Regions from separate parts of the Homo sapiens genome. Here regions 2 and 3 are each linked to region 1. The links are contacts of gene promoters, found by promoter capture Hi-C in blood cells and fetal thymus (Javierre and others, 2016). All regions are on one chromosome and are shown on one strand. Each heading gives the region's core, a stretch centred on a gene start or on the middle of the fragment in contact. The rest is flanking DNA. Distances are from core to core; before and after follow the strand shown.

Evidence for each region. The method cuts DNA at HindIII sites, captures the fragments that hold promoters and counts their contacts. A CHiCAGO score of 5 or more calls a contact.
Region 2: a contact is called between the fragment with the promoter of SNX30 here and the fragment with the promoter of ZNF483 in region 1, in 6 of 17 cell types (activated CD4 T cells, naive CD8 T cells, non-activated CD4 T cells and 3 more). The highest score is 8.9, in activated CD4 T cells.
Region 3: a contact is called between the fragment with the promoter of INIP here and the fragment with the promoter of ZNF483 in region 1, in 5 of 17 cell types (naive CD8 T cells, naive CD4 T cells, total CD4 T cells and 2 more). The highest score is 18.6, in naive CD8 T cells.

Annotation. Positions count from the first base shown.
Region 1 is chr9:111,523,798-111,526,586 of GRCh38, forward strand. It overlaps ZNF483 (zinc finger protein 483), which reads left to right and starts at 1,382. Exons shown (of 6, transcript NM_133464.5): 1 at 1,382-1,465. RefSeq lists a silencer at 1,285-1,634 and enhancers at 1,735-1,934, 2,046-2,545. The HindIII fragment of the contact is 1,786 bases long and covers 1-1,410 here.
Region 2 is chr9:112,749,300-112,752,088 of GRCh38, forward strand. SNX30 (sorting nexin family member 30) reads left to right here and starts at 1,461. Exons shown (of 9, transcript NM_001012994.2): 1 at 1,461-1,858. The coding sequence starts at 1,703. It overlaps SNX30-DT (SNX30 divergent transcript), which reads right to left and starts at 1,266. Exons shown (of 1, transcript NR_186503.1): 1 at 1-1,266. RefSeq lists a silencer at 1,219-2,038 and enhancers at 1,308-2,229, 2,230-2,789. The HindIII fragment of the contact is 6,629 bases long and covers 1-2,789 here.
Region 3 is chr9:112,716,676-112,719,464 of GRCh38, forward strand. INIP (INTS3 and NABP interacting protein) reads right to left here and starts at 1,442. Exons shown (of 5, transcript NM_021218.3): 1 at 1,312-1,442. RefSeq lists an enhancer at 1,024-1,123 and a silencer at 1,494-1,653. The HindIII fragment of the contact is 2,113 bases long and covers 865-2,789 here.

The sequences.
Region 1 (2,789 bases), core at 132-2,631:
AGTAGAGACAGGGTTTCTCCGCGTGGGTCAGGCTGGTCTCAAACTCCCGACCTCAGGTGATCCACCCGCCTCAGCCTCCCAAAGTGCTGGGATTACAAGCATGAGCCACCGCGCCCGGCCATTCTCAGCCCTGTCTCTTCAGCTTGACTTGCTGCCTGTGATAAGCCCACTCCTTTTGAGAGGAGTGGTTCATTTAGTTGAGCTTGCTCTGCCCTTTTGAAGTCTCAGGGCCTTGAATCACCTTGCTCCTTCAGTCTAGAATGAATCTAGTCTTTCTCTCCTAACTCCACCCCTTCAGGGATCATCCAGTTATTAGAACCCTCCAAACAATTTTTCTGGAGTTCTTTGGCCCTTTTTGCAATGCCCCCAATAATCCATGCAAATACTCATTCATAAGCTCAACAAATATCTATTGAGTGCCTGCCATGGGCCAAGTCCTGTTCCAGGACCTAAACACACAACCTAGAACAAATGAAATAAAAATACTTACTCTTCTGAAATTAGTATTCTACTGGAGAAGGCGGACAAGTAGTAAAAAAAAAAATTAACAAACCTATAGGGCATGTTAGAAGAGGAAACAAGAGTAAGGTGGGATTCCTATTTAAGTGGAATGGTGGGAGAGCTTCATTGAGAAGACCTGAAGGGATGAGAGAGCGGGCCGTATGGCCACTTAGGGAAGGAGCAGGTCAGCCGGAAGTACCTGGCAGGTTACAAGAAGAGGAAGGGGTCTATCAAGATTGGAGCAGGAAAGTGGGGAAGAGGTGCGGGAGGTTACAGGGGCTAGATTCCATCAGGCCTTGTAGGCCACTATAAAGACTTGGGTTTTAACTCTGAGTGAAATGGGAAACCATTGCAGGGTTTTAAGCAAAGGAGGGTCATAATTTGACGTTTTTAAAACGTCCGTCTGGCTGTGGAGAATAGCCAAGAGAAGTAAGGTATAATCAAGAAGCTATTGCAATAATCCAGGTGAGCCATGAGGGTGGACTGGACCATGGGGGCAGGTGTGGAAGTCATAAGATTAATATGTGTTTAACTCAAGTTGTGGCATTAATTATGGCTTGCATTAAATGCATCGGTAATATGCTTCTGCGGTGGATTTTTCCACCTTAGATTTCAGGGAATGGAAGTGATGGGAGCGGGTAGGGAAGGTCTGAGGTTACTAAACAGATGGAGCCTCCTGGATCTGCAAACCTCATACGATTCTAGGCCTCTGAGCCTCTGGCGCAGCAATAATTCTGCAGCCGAGCCCACTAGCCGCTTCCCAGTGACCATGCGCAACAGGCAGGTGGGAGCCTATGGAAAGCGCGGACTTTCGGAAAGCTGCACGAGCGCGTTCGGGGAGTCCGGTTCAGCGCCTCTGCGCAGGCGCAGTGGTTCCCGCAGGCTTGCGCGCGCACTCGCTGCGGGACAAGCTTCTGGAAGCTCTTTGCGGTGGCGTTGGTGCTGTTTGCGGATGCTGATGCAGGTACTGGTCGTCCCGGGCCCCGAGTTTCGGGGCCGTGGCCGGGTCGCCGGCTCCGAGGGCGCACTTGGGGCGGGATGGGGGCCGGGAGCAGCCTACCAACGGGCTGTGCGCTGCGCTGCTGCTGCTTCTGTGGGAGGTGCGCACTCCGCTGCGGGATGGGGCTGTTGGCTTCCCTCCATCCCTCCCTGCGCCACTTGGGCACTGTTGACATTTTGGGCGGGATAATGCCTTGTTTTGTTTGTGGTGTGGCGGTGAGGGGGAGGCTCTCCCGTTGTGGCAGGATGTTTAACAGCGTCACTGGTTCTGCCCGTTAGATAACAGTACCACCTCTCGTCCTAGTCGAGCTAACCAAAAATGTGTCCAGACATTGCCAGAGGACCGCTGGGGGGTGAAATCTCTCCTTTTTTCTTCCCTCTGGTTGAGATCCTCTGGCTGCGTCACATTTTCACCGGGCCTCCTATGTAAACTCCCTGTAGACGGAGCCGAGTGTCTTAGTCATCGCGGAGCCCCAGGTGCTCAGCACGGCGCCAGGTACGTGGTGGGCGCCTAATATTTGGCAGAGGAATAAATGACGTCATGCTGCTGTGTGCCGGGCGCTGTACTCGGAAGTGGGTTGTTATTGGTATGGTAGTTGCAATGCGAGGCTGTCACATCCTTCACTTGTCGCATTGTAGTCCCGCTCCGGCTGTATTGTCATTTCCTGGACCCTCTGTGAGCGTGAGGACCCTTTCAGGCCTGTCCACGCCTGGCCCCGCAGCTCATGGCCCCTGGTCTCGTTCCAGCTCATTGTAGTTGCTCCGTCACTTATAGAATGAATGAATGAATGCAACACAGGGCAGTCTGTGTGCAAAGGAGTGCTTTGGGATCAAGCAGAGCATCACACCAGAAGTGACAGTTGAAAGGAGTCAGGCTTTAAAGACGAATAAAAGTTTGGTAGGAGAAAGAAAGCAACATTCCGAGGAGAGGGAATAGCCTTGGTGCAAAGGCTAGGAGAGTATGTAGAGAGAGAGGAGATACTAATTTATGGCTGTAGTGTCAATCGGGTAGCTAGAGCTCAAGAGGTGAGGTCATCAGACAGTGTCTCTAGATCACAATGCCATGGTCCCTGCATGTGAACTTTATCGAGAGACAGTTCGGTGGCTGGTGAGGGACTGTAAGCCGGGGAGTGATAAGATCATATTTTGCATGTTAGAAGGAATTTTTTGGCCACAGTGTGAGACTGGAGTGAAGAACCCTGTACTTAGGCAGTTTCAGAAGGATAGAATGGAGAGGTTCTTAGGAAATAAAATCGCCAGAACTTGGCGATTGATGGGAGAAGTAAGGA
Region 2 (2,789 bases), core at 211-2,710, 1.2 Mb after region 1:
ATAAGAAAAACCGATGTTATACATCTATAGATGTATATACTCATTTCTAGAAATACTCATTTCTAGTTATATTGTGCTATTCATTTTCATGCTAATTCAGAAGAACAGATAATAGGGTCTGTAGTAGTTGTAAGCAGCCCTTGAATGTGAAAGTGTTAACAATTTTAATCCAACTCCAAGAGGACCAGAACTTGGCATTCCTTAGATGCAGCATTTAAAATTGTTCCCAGTGCCCTTTGAATGCTACTTTTCCCAGCCAAGGCAGGCTTATGTGGAGGAGATAAAGATGATAGCTTGAGGACTAAGGGTCCAACCCTATATAAATTACATTGGGGGAAATAGGGGAAGGTCTTTGAAGCTCAGAGTCTCTGACTGATATTTTGGGTAGATTTCAACCCTCTGCATTCTCTTCTATTTGTTTCTAGAGAAAACTGTGGTAGAGGCCTTAGTGAATCCCAGAGTCAACATCTGTCATCACCTTTTAGCAGGTAAGGCTAGGCAAACCTTTGAGTTTGGAATGGGTAGGGAAAATGTGGTCCCTCACGATGAGCCTCCCTACCCATTACTTTGCTAGAGGGACTGAAAACCCTTTAAAGACTTGGCCTTGGAAACAGAAGATCTAGGGACAGGTAAGGTGGAAAAAGGAGGTGAACCTACACCCCAAAGGGCTGGAAGTAACACCTTGACTATTTGCACCACGCCAGCAAATAAAGCTGAGAATCAGCTCAGCCCAAGGCCTGGAAAGGAAGCACAAATGCATGAAGAATAACTTGAACCTCATGGTTCTTTCAAAAGTCTCTTCGGCCAAAGTGTGAGTTGAAGAGTCGCATATCATTTGAGACTCTCTACTCATGCTCGCTGTTCTGAGGTTTGACTTTACACAAATCCAGCTCAGCTGCAGAAGCAAGCCACAATGGGGACCTCAGAGTGAGCCTGAAGACTCCCCACACCGCCTCTTTGAAGTCCCTTCCAGGTTCCCCACCCGATGTCCTCTAGCTCATTTGAGCCTTGTCGCCCTTTATGCTATTCTTCCGATATGGGTCGTAATTCCGTCTATCTAGGGTTCTTCCTGCGCGTGCCTTAGAGGCCAGAAGACCCTGACTCACGTGCGTGTCCTCAAAGCCCCCAGCCCCAAGCGTGGCTGCTGGTGGGCGCATCAGTAAACGCGGGTGGAACGGAACAGGCTCCTCCAACCTCTTTTCCACCTCTGATTTCCGTTAGACATTTGCTCCGCACGGCGGCCTCCGCGAGGCAACGTTGGACACTGGGAGGACAGCCGCAGAGGCCCAGGGCGCACTTCCTGCCGGGCGGGGGCGGGGCCGCGCCTCCTCCCTCCCTCCCTCCGTCCTTCCTTCCCCACGTGCCCCTTCCCCGCCCTCCCCGCCCCCTCCCGGGCGGCCGCGGCGCCTCGGGGGCGGGGCCGGAGCGGGTGGGCGGTGTGGCTGTGTGGGCTGGGCGCCGCGGCCGTGCTGCCAGCGGACCCGCGGCGGGCTCGGGCGCGGAGCGGGGGCGCGCGGCGCGGAGCGGAGCGTCTGAGCGCCGGCAGAGACCAGCCGGCGGGTGGCGGCGGCCCCCAGCACGGCCGGTGCAAGGCCTCGGGTTAAGCGGCGGCCGAGCGGGGCTCGGCCCGGGGTGCTCGGGGAGCTCGCCGCGGCGGGCAGCAGGAGGAAGCGGCGGCGGCGCGTCCCGAGCGGTGCGCGCCATGGCGGGCGGGCCCCCCAAGGCCCTGCCGTCCACGGGGCCCCACTCCCTGCGCGACATGCCGCACCCGCTGGCCGGCTCCAGCAGCGAGGAGGCCGTGGGTGGTGACAGCACGCCCAGCCCGGACCTGCTGATGGCCCGCAGCTTCGGTGACAAGGTGGGGCGCCTGGGGCCGGGGAGTGGGAGGCTTATTTCGCTCCCCGTGGGGGGGATGATGGATCCGGAGCCTTCGTGGGCCTGGGGCCGCGCCCACCCTGCCGCCCCTTCCCGGGGGACGGGCGTGTCCTGGCCCCGGAGCCCTCGGCGAAGCGTCTCCTCTGCCGCCTCCGCGGGGTCGCAGCCGCAGAGGGACAGGCTTCGCTGCCTGTGACTGGTCGCAAGCACCGGTGACAGCTGGTGGGGAGGGGTCCAGCCTGCGTGTTGGAGCGGGAGGCGTGTGTTCAGGGCAGGGCGCCTGTGTCCTCGGATGGGGTTCCGAGTTCCTCCAGGTGCATCCCTGCAGGCTGAGCTGCTGCATAACTTGTAGCTCCTCCAGTTTCCGAGACTGCACAGAAAGCAGGAGTTCCTGGCTTTCCGTGCTGGGACCGGGCAGCCCTGGGCTTACAGCGAGAGTCTTCTTCCCCCTAGTCAGTCATGTGGGGAGTGATCTTTGTTTAGGTTTGCTGTTTGTCCTGAGGAGTCACCTGACTCAGACCCCAGCCGGCGGCGGGAGGAGAGCCTCGTTGTGGTTTTCTGTCTGGGGCTCCATTCACCTCCGACGGCCTACCACTCTGTTTAGGTTTGGCAGAGGCTGGTTTTGTGGTTGATGGAAAGAAAGCTCGCCCTTTGACCTTCTTTGTACGGAGGGAGGCTCCAGATTTTCTTAGAGCAGCACAACCCTCCTGCTGCTTGGAGAGACAGCAGAGTCCAGGCAGGGGTAAGGGACGACCTCCTCCCTACCCCCATGGCCATTTCAGCTGTGAAGGAGACTTGAGCAGTGATTGTATCCCCGCTCCTGCCGTCACTTAGTCACTAACTGCAGAAATTAGAATTGTTCTCAGGTCTTGTGATCAAGATTTTCTCTCCCTAGTAAAATACTAAATGAATTC
Region 3 (2,789 bases), core at 192-2,691, 1.2 Mb after region 1:
GTGGCTCACGCCTGTAATCCCAGCACTTTGGGAGGCCGAGGCGGGCGGATCACGAGGTCAGCAGATCGAGACCATCCTGGCTAACATGGTGAAACCCAGTCTCTACTAAAAATAAAATTAAAAAAAAAAATCAGCCGGGTGTGGTGGCAAGCGCCTGCAGTCCCAGCTACTCGGGAGGGCGAGACGGGAGAATCACTTGAACCCGGGTGGCGGAGGTTGCAGTGAGCCGAGATCGCGCCACTGCACTCCAGTTTGGGCCACAGAGCGAGACAGCGAGACTCGGTCTCAAAAAAAAAAAAAAAGAAAAGAAAGAAAGATACATTTGAAATGTACACAGACTGAAACAAATGTAAACTCTGCTAGTGCCTCAAGCATTTAATTAAATACGGCATTGTTTATTCTTGCAGATGTTCATACCATTTAGCATTACTGTCTTTAATAAACGTCATTAGGTTGTATTTACCAAATATATCAACCAATTGATAGAGTCAATATAATCATGGTGCTAGGAAGAAAAATCATTCATCTATGGTGTCTCTGCATTCGTCTAAAACACATACCCAAAAACTACTGTGTACACTGAAAGCTAAAAAAGGTAAAGGAGTACTGTATCTGCTCTGCACCATACACTGTGTAACATGCTCGAAATTAGTTCCTTTATTTATTTATCACCATTTTATAGATGAGGAAACCGTACCCAGGGTCATAGAGCTAGTAGGAATTATTTGGGCTGCTGGTTTCCAAACTTCGTGCTTTCGTACTAAATCCTGGGGAGATCCAAGATGAGCAAGACCCTAATCCTGCTTTCAGAAGGGAAAATAAAGTCTTATTCAAGCAACCATACTATTAATTAAAAAAAAAAAAAGCTTAACAAACCCGCTCTTTAAAAGGTGGGCACAGTGCCGGAGGCAAAGAATTGATTTCATTGGCAGCAAAGAGTGATGCCTTAGTCTAGGGAGCCCGGGAAAGACACAAGGGATAGAAAACAGACACCGGTTTTTAGTAAATGAATCGTTAGGTGTCTCCAGCGGCTGAAACACAGAGCGAGCAATGCGGGGTTAGGACTGGAGGACAACAGGGCCATCTTGTGACAGGGTAGACTGGCGTGCCAGAAAGGTCCCTGCCTACGGATGTGCAGAGCCGGCTGGGCCCGGGCTGTGAACGAGACGAAGGAAGCAAGTAGGAGCCAGAAATGTTAGGTGGCAAGGTCGGAAGGGAGGTCGCTGCCTGTAGCAACAAAGACGGCGGCGACAGGTTAGCACCGGAGCCACACTTTTCTATTGCCCGGTGCCTCCAGACTGTCGTACTTACCTGGGACCCGAGGACACCGGGACCGCCTCTCCTTACAATCGCTGCTCTTAAAGGGGGCGCGACCACTTAGGCAAGAGGAGCTCAACTCGCGGCACTACAACCTTCCCGCCCCCGCTGCGCTTCCGCCTCCTGACTGACGTGCGCCCCAGGGAGCGGAAACCCCGCCTCCCGCCGGGACCCAACGGCCACCGCCCGTCGTGATTCGCACTTTAGCGGCCACCTCAGTGCAGACGTCACTTTTTTTTCCAAAGAGTGACAGTCGAAGAGGCTCACGGGAGATGCAAACGGTACTTTTGGGGGCTGGGCCAGGGTGGGGCGTGGCCCGGGGCGGGGGAGGGGCGGGGCTGCCAGGCAGGGGCGGGACGGAGAACACCTGGGTCCCTAGCACCAAGACTGGCTTTTTATTCATTGCCACCGCCTGGCCGGTCTTGCGACGGTGCGAGTCCACCTCGGCTGGGCCTCGGAGGAGGGGCGACTCTAGAAGCTAAACTCGCTTTCGAGCTTTAACAACCATCTCGGATTGCGCATCCGCACACACACACACACACACACACACACACACACAAATTCAGGAATATTTTTTGTCTACAGTTTACATAATTATACACAATGAAAGCACTGAATATGGAGGATTTTTATTACAGTGCAATAATCTGCATTTAAGAAGTGGATGTGCCACATCGCAGAACACCAAGTTGCCACTAGTGGGATCACCTGCTGCCCACCTGATTCCAGCACAGTAGATAGCTACACATTTGAATTAAAAGGTAATCGTATATTGACATGTGTTCAAATTGCACTCTTTTTAATTTAAAAAAATATTTTTTATGGTGACAGTGTCTCGCTTTGTTGCCCAGGCTGGTCTTGAACTCCTGGCCTCAAGGGATCTGCCCACCTCAGCCTCCCAAAGTGCTGGGATTACAGGCGTGAGCCACCTGCCCTGCTTAAAATTGCAGTGTCTTAATCTCTTCCGAAAGATACATTTGAAAAACGCACAGACTTAAATCACAAATGTAAGCTCCCCAAGCGCCTCAAGCATTTAATTAAATAGAATGGATAATGAATTTGAACATATGTTTTTAATAATTGATGTTTGCTCAAGAGTAAAATGTTTATGATGCACAATTTTCTTGTGCATGGATCAATGACTGAAATAATCGTTTCAATATCAAGTATTTATTTACTGAAAACCAAGCATGTATTTACTCTATACCAAGCAGCTATTGAGTGCCTTCTACAATGCGAGGTGCTTCCTGTGCATCAGCTCTGGTCCTGCTGTTCCCTGATTTATATTTGAGACTCATGTTTCTTGCTCTATGTCAAGTAGCGAGCTAAGATTCAAATTTAAAGATCTGCCAGATGCTAAGGCCTGAGTTCTTAAATCTCACACATTGCCTCTGCTCTGGAGGAATGAATTCCTCTGAGACCAGTTCTTGCTGACTTGACTTTAATCCAGATATAAAGCCTAACACATGAGC